Regions from separate parts of the Homo sapiens genome. Here region 2 is linked to region 1. Evidence: promoter capture Hi-C in 16 types of primary human blood cells and fetal thymus (Javierre and others, 2016). All regions are on one chromosome and are shown on one strand. Each heading gives the region's core, a stretch centred on a gene start or on the middle of the fragment in contact. The rest is flanking DNA. Distances are from core to core; before and after follow the strand shown. Region 1 holds the start of LRRC69 (leucine rich repeat containing 69). Region 2 overlaps CALB1 (calbindin 1).

Region 1 (3,766 bases), core at 740-3,239:
GAGGGAAGTCTCTCAAGGAAAAGTACATTTGACAGAAAAAAATTATACAGTTTGAAATAAAATGAGGCTACCATAAAACTAAGGCACAAGAACAAAGGAAAGGTTATTAGAAACTCCAAGGGAACAAAAATGGCATATAAGAAAGAAAATATAATCATAGATTAATTGACTCCATGTGAATATTTATTTATTAGTAATATATATTTTTAGAAGTTTAGAGTTACCCAAGACACAAAACAAATATTTAATTATGGTTATAACTGAATAGGATATAAAAGCTGTAAGTGTTATAAAAGTAAAAACTTCAGAGTTTGTGAGGGGGGAGAGGAAAGGACAGCTGAAGGTGGATTACAAAGGCTGACACTGTCATCTTACGAAGTGGGGAGTCAAAAGAGACTGCAGTTGATGAAGGAAGAAATAAAGGTGTAGTAACATTACATGTAAAAGATACCTGTAGACCTAATCCCCTGATTCCAGATGTGGATCAATACACAATAGATACATTAATATAACTGTATCTAGAAGATGAAGAAAAATGATGCCAAAAATAGACAAATCAATAAAATAGATGAGTTAAAAGTGGTTATATATGGAGATCGGGATTGAGGATGAGGGGAAGTGGGATAGAAGATAGCTTCTTGCTATAAGCTTTTTGTAATATTTAATTCTCGGTAACCAATGGTTAGTACTACTTTAATGGAAATAAATTCAAATAGAGGGAGAGAATAGGTTCATGACTCAGTCAAGTCCCAAATTCTTTTGCAAAGAAACTCCTCTTTCCTATTAAAAAATTCCAAGTCCTTGTTGTCTTGTAACTACAAGTATACCTTCTGCAATTACTAATGAAGGGGGACTTTGTAAAAGTTACCCTATTTCTTATAAAGATACAACTACAGATTACAAACTCAATTTCTTAAACGTAAAAGGAAATGAGGTAGGGTGAAAGTAAGAAAATACAGATTTATTTTTTGGAACTGTAAATTCAAAATTAATGAGCTATAACGCCTTAGCTGCTTCTAGGTTCTTCCTGTGCTGATGACAATTCAGCAGTGAACAAAAAGAAAATTACAAAGTTAATATCCCTTGCCTTCTCTCAACCTCAAGATTTTTGGCAGCTAGAGTTTCACATTGTTAGGCAGAAAGGTTTAACACAAGCATATGGGATTCATTCATGTCAACTATTCCTCTTTAAAAAAGAATATTTTTTATTTAAAATATTAAACTTCCTTTAAAGACTATTTCAGGAGAAATAAATGTCCCCTCCTTCCTATTCCCTGCCAACACTCCATTTCAAAGTTTCAGCCTGCCCTAGGAAATTGAAAAGGAACTCCCTTGCTGCATCCTAAATGTCTCTTCATTCTAAATGCAAAAGCTTCAGGACAGTCCCCAGGGTGAACAGCATCTCCTGGATCCTCAAAACTACTTCCAGATGTAAGCCCCCAAGATAGACGACCAGATCCAGGTTTCCAACCCCTTTCCAGATGACAGCCTCTAAAAAGATGAGTGTGGCAGAGACCTAGTCCCCTGACTCCAGATGTGGGCCAAAGAGCACATGAATAAATTGAAACATCTCTCCCTACCACATGGAATTCCCTAAGGGAGAAAGCCTTCTGATGCCTCTCCAGCAACACTCCACATTAAGTCTCCAGATACCTAAGTCTCCATAGATCGAAGTGTTATTGTTCTGTCTCTTACCCCTTTTTTCTCTCTTCCTGTTTTCCATCTTCAATACCAAACCACAACAGCAAAACACTGTTCCTCACCTGGGTCAAGTTGCATAACTCTGGACACACTTTGGGGATTAGGTTATTCTGAAGGACTAGAGTCTTCAGGCCAGGCAGTTTTCCTAATGCTGAGGGCATCTTTGTCATCTTCTTCCCATTCAAAGTAATGATCTTCGTATTTTTACCACCACTCAATGCTTTTATTAACAATCTCTCAGTCATGATCTTGGAAAAGAAGTAGAAAACAAGGTAACCATTAGAGTTCTTTATTATACAGCTTTAGAACCTCTAATTACAGAATTGGTGTGTCATAGAAACAAGAACATTCTGAGATCCACCATGTTGAAGGGGGGAAGCATTAGATTATTTTCCTATGTGAAAGATACGAAAGGAAAGTAGATGGTCCAGGTTTGGGGCAGGAAATGTATAATGTAAGCCTAAAATAGCTTATGCCTGCGATATTAAAGCTATCAGAGATTAATGAGGACACAGAAGTGAACTTCTAGGAGCTCCCACTAGTCTAAGATGGAAAATATTAAGGATCAGAAAGAAATAATCTAGAATAGACTGAAACATATCAAAACACATTAAAATCTGAGTTCATAATGGCATTTTTTAAAAAGAAACATTACTCACCCTGGGAATTACTAGCGCACCAACTCAGTCTGAAAATTGATAAAGGAAAAAATATAAGCATTTATTCTGCTTTTCCAGTACAAACTGCACTTAAATATAACTTAATAGTTAATAAAGTTCTTATTCACAAGAATTGAAACTAATAAATGAGAAAGACAAAATAACTAGAATAATCACAATTTTTGCAAATTCTAATAAAATAATGGAGCTATGCAAAAATCATAATTGGAGACTGAAAGTATTAGATGAAAGGTTGATGAGGAACTTTATAATCAAGTGATCAGGTTAATAACCCACTAATCATTTTAGCATCAATAAAATTGAGACAATCACATTATAAGCCTTATGAAGTAATGAATTAAAAAGTACACAGCAGCACCACCTATGAAATGTTCCTGTCCAAAAATTAAATCTGAATCTAATCATGGCTTCAAGATCTAACTACCATTTACAAAAAAACAGAACTAGAGAATAAGTTAAGTTCATTATAGGGAAACAGTCAAATCTATAACATGGAAGATTCTACAGGACTGGTCCCTGGTCCAATGTCACAAGGTTTCACCAACAAATGAAAGACATTAATAAAAAGGAGGGAAAACTGTTACGATGTAAGTGAAACTTAGGGCAAATAACAGCTAAATGCAATGTCTGGACTGTATTTGAATCCTCAGTTGAATACAAACATCTCAGGGAAATTTGTTCATCGGCTATTAGATGAGAGAAATTAATTCTGTTACATGTGAAAATGGTATGGTGGTAGTATTTATTTTAAATGTGCTTAACATTCAGAAATGCATACTGAAATTTTCAAGTGAAATAAAATGATATCTTGAGTTTTTTTAAAAATAATCTAGGGGGGAAAGTGGGTGGAAGAAACTGATCAAACAAGATTGACAAAATGTTGATAATTATTAATGCTGAGTAATAGACACATAGGGGTTTGTATTTGTCCATTCTCGCACTGCTATAAATACCTGAGACTAGGTAATTTATAAAGAAAAGAGGGTTAATTGGCTCACAGTTCTGCAGGCTATACAGGAAGCATGGTGCTGGCATCTGCTCAGCTTCTGGGGAGCCCTAAGGAAGCCTACAATAATGGTGGAAGGCAAAGGGAGAGCCAGCACTTCACATGGCCAGAGCTGGAGGAAGATAGGAAGGAGGTGCTACACACATAAACAACTAGATCTCAGGATAACTCACTCACTCACTAGCAGGAAAACAGCACTGAGAGGATGCTAATGCATTCATGAGAACTCCACCCCCAGGATCTAATCACCTCCCACCAGGCCCAGTCTCCAACACTGGGGATTATAATTGAACATGAGATTTTGGAGGGAACACAAATCCAAACCATATCAGCATTCATTATATTAGTCTTGTTATTTTTGCATATGTTTAAAAATTTC
Region 2 (3,488 bases), core at 482-2,981, 1.0 Mb after region 1:
CAAGGTGACAGTTAAGCCACTGTGTTTTTATTTTATTAGTTAGACCAAAAATATTCTTTTAAAGATCCTTTTTAGTTCATAATGAAAACCTTAGCTCATTTCCAATACTGACCTCTAAATATTCTAAAAGCCTCCTTCTTTGTTCTAAATTTTATTCTCAGAAAGAGATTCTAAATAGAAGTCCTCTTCCCTGGGGAATTTTGAAGATAAGTTGGCATTCTTTTTTAATGGATCTTTCAAGAAAGCTAATTTTAAGATCCATAATAGAGTAAAACATCACTTGCTCTCAGACACGACTTTGAATCTCTGCGTCCCAAGGTTTCTCCGAGGCTATTTTTGTGACCACCATTTTAGTCTCTGATGAGGCTTTTTAACCCAATTAATCTCTGACAAAAGCCCCAGAAGGCTCAAAAATAAAATTCAACCCCAACAGATAACTTTGAATTTTCCATGCTTCACTTTGGATTTGAAGTGGAATATTTGAAGTAAAAAATTTTTATCAAACTAAGAAAAGAGTCTCTTTCCTTTAAAAAAGTGGCATCAAATCAGCCCAGAACTGGAACATTTAGGAGAGAGATAAGTCATTGCTAAATCAAAGAAATCTAATCCTTCAATAATATCTGGGCACAGTATCTGCCTAGTTTTTCCTAATTGCATTAATTCATTTTCTGAGAAAATAAAGGAGTTACGAATGAATAGCACTAAACAAAATGAATGACTATTATAAAGTGCTTACACTGTCACTTATATGGCAAATCTTTGTAAAGCTTTTATTTATGTTTCTGTTAAAAAAACTTAAATTCATTCCTAAGCTCCAGGTGTCAAGTTAATAATCATCTTTTTTTCATCCTTCCCACATTAATCTCTATTTTAATATGATTCATATATCTTTCAAAGATTCAATGACATCAACTGTGGCCAATTTTGTTAATTTAAATAGTCAGTGGAAGCATTTTAACCAAAGTGCTTTGGACTGCATTAGGCTAAAAACTACCCAACTGGCCCTCTGGAGAAATAAGCATCATGCTGGCTATAAACTAATGTGTAAATACAGCCTGGGGAGCAGAAAATGGATTTGAAATTAGGGATAGATCTCTATTTGGTTTACTGATATTTTTTCACAATATTCCAAAGGTATAAAGGCCCTTGTGTTTCTTGCAGAACAATCCAATGAGTACTTGTGAAGATATCAGTAAGAAGAAATGCATCCATTGGGCTGGCTGGTTTTAAAAGGTTTTATTCAGGTTAATTGAAATCATAAAGTCATGGTAATGCACAGACAATGATCAATCAAGTCTCAGTAAAAAGCAGGTATTATTCCTGTCAAAGGTAGTTTCATTGCTGGAATGCCAGGAGGACAACCTGGTTTAGTCTTTCTTCTATTATAAGTTCCTCTACTCACCTGCTTCTACCCCTCAAAAGGAGACTTTCTTTGCATTCCTGGTATGTCCTGTTCCAAGGCATTCTGAAATGAAAGTAGACGATATATTATTAATGAAATTAATCTAAGTGTTCTTTGTTTTAACAGAACTTTCTAAAGGACCTGCTAGAAAAAGCAAACAAGACTGTTGATGACACAAAATTAGCCGAGTATACAGACCTAATGGTAAGACTGATCTTGAAAAGATTGTACCCAAGAGCTCATGAAGTAGTATGATGTTCTTGCTAACTCCCAAGGCTACACAGGATGAAATAAATAAACGGTGGTGTGGGCATCATATGCACATAGGTATCATTTCATTTGAAAAGTGAAATACTTAGGGATGCTTACATCTTGTCATTTTGAGTTCTGCAGGCATTGGCTTTAAGACTCAACATATGAGCATTTTCTTCCTTGTAGAGCTGTGTAATTTTTATCTATCAAAAGATGACTTGTTTTGCTTCCAAAGCCAGTGTAATTATATCACTAAATTATATAACTTACACATATATAAGGTACACTATATATATATAAATTATATCACCAAAAACTCACTTATTATAGAGTTCCTAAATCCATTTTTATCATAGTTTGGGAAATCACACTTTGTTGAGTTTAAAGAGACCATCTAGCTACTTTATTAATTAAGCAAGTTAAAATGGGTCTCCTTCTTTCTTTTGATTTTTGTTGTTTTGGGGTTTTGTATTGGTGCTTTGAATGAGGAAATCTAAATATGCCCTAAGGTTGATGCTATGGTAAATAGTGACAACTAAGATCAATTATAGAATGTTGATAATAGAGCCAAGAAAACTGCTTTACACATAGGCACTTACTGTTTCAGGAAAAAAAAAAGAGCAGATAAATAAGGTTCCAGATAAAATAAACCAATGTCTATGAAGTTAGTTTCTATTGGACGAAGTTTGCTCATTTTGACTCATCACAGAATTAGGATTACCAGGAGATAGATATATTTATACAGCTTTCAGTACTGTGAAGGTACTGTGAATTCTTACTCCATGGATTTACATCAATAAACCATAAACATGGCTCTATACTATAAAAGCTACTGTTATATTAGATTGAAGAAGGAGTTAGACTTTTTAATTACTCTGAGAAACAATCTAATAAAGGGTTTGATTATATTTGATGTAACTGAGGTTTGCTTTCAGCATCTCAGCTTACTTTTATCTGGGTTGGGGAGGGGGAACTACTAGAACTTTACTATTGCCTTATTCACTAACTAGTGTTATTTATTATAAGGTGGGGCTAAGCTTTAATTTCAAAACAACCAAAAAGGTTTTCATGGTCATCTTTAATTCCTCATTACATCTCCACTTACAATAGCACTAGCAAACAAATGGGGGAGAGTTTCTTGCTATGTGTCACAATCAACAGGTCTAAGCTCTGAATAACTTTTAGGTAATGGACAATAACCTACATTTATCAATTTTCTATTTTGTTCCAATCTTAAGGGATGCCTATTTAAAGAAAGGCTCCTTTCCAGGTAGAATATTGAAGCAGCCTTTCAAAACCCACTCAGATGGGAGTTTCCCTCTGTTGGATTGGCCTGACATATCTGATTAAATGTCATAAACCAGTTCAAATCCAGGAAGCAAATTAATCGAGAGCTAATTAAAATTTAAATATATATGTTGGGAAATATTTCCCCATGGGCACAAAACTAAGTAATCGAGCTGTCCAGTATCTTGGTAGGTAGTGTGACAATATCAGAATTTATGGTCAATGGATTATAAAATGTTTTGTCAGCATGGGATCCTGAAAAAAATCTGCCTCCTACAAAAGATTCTTAGAATACCTCGAACCACAGAATGCCCTTCCTTTCCTTCTTAAAAAGATGTCACTAAATCTATATCCATTATAACACTGGACACATTCTGTTCTTTAAAAACAAAAATAATGTTAATTTTTCACATATTTAGTGTTCATTTAGTATACACATTTTATATATTTAATGTAATTCATATATACTACTTTGGTATAACATATTATAGCAATAGTTGCTACTATCTAAAAAGGTGAATGCTTCCCAAATACGGGTATGAGTGTG

What was found. Contacts are between HindIII fragments. The CHiCAGO score rates a contact against its expected background, and 5 or more counts as called.
Region 2: a fragment that was not itself captured here is called in contact with the fragment with the promoter of LRRC69 in region 1 in 1 of 17 cell types (neutrophils); the score reaches 6.9 in neutrophils.

Annotation. Positions count from the first base shown.
Region 1 is chr8:91,100,842-91,104,607 of GRCh38, reverse strand. It overlaps LRRC69 (leucine rich repeat containing 69), which reads right to left and starts at 1,989. Exons shown (of 8, transcript NM_001129890.2): 1 at 1,764-1,989. The coding sequence starts at 1,946. The HindIII fragment of the contact is 4,824 bases long and covers 1,375-3,766 here.
Region 2 is chr8:90,064,016-90,067,503 of GRCh38, reverse strand. CALB1 (calbindin 1) reads left to right here. Exons shown (of 11, transcript NM_004929.4): 6 at 1,529-1,606. It overlaps LOC124901976 (a long non-coding RNA gene), which reads right to left. Exons shown (of 2, transcript XR_007061004.1): 2 at 1,222-1,465. Among named protein-coding and RNA genes, the nearest start is that of CALB1, 17 kb to the left of the region's middle. The HindIII fragment of the contact is 1,924 bases long and covers 770-2,693 here.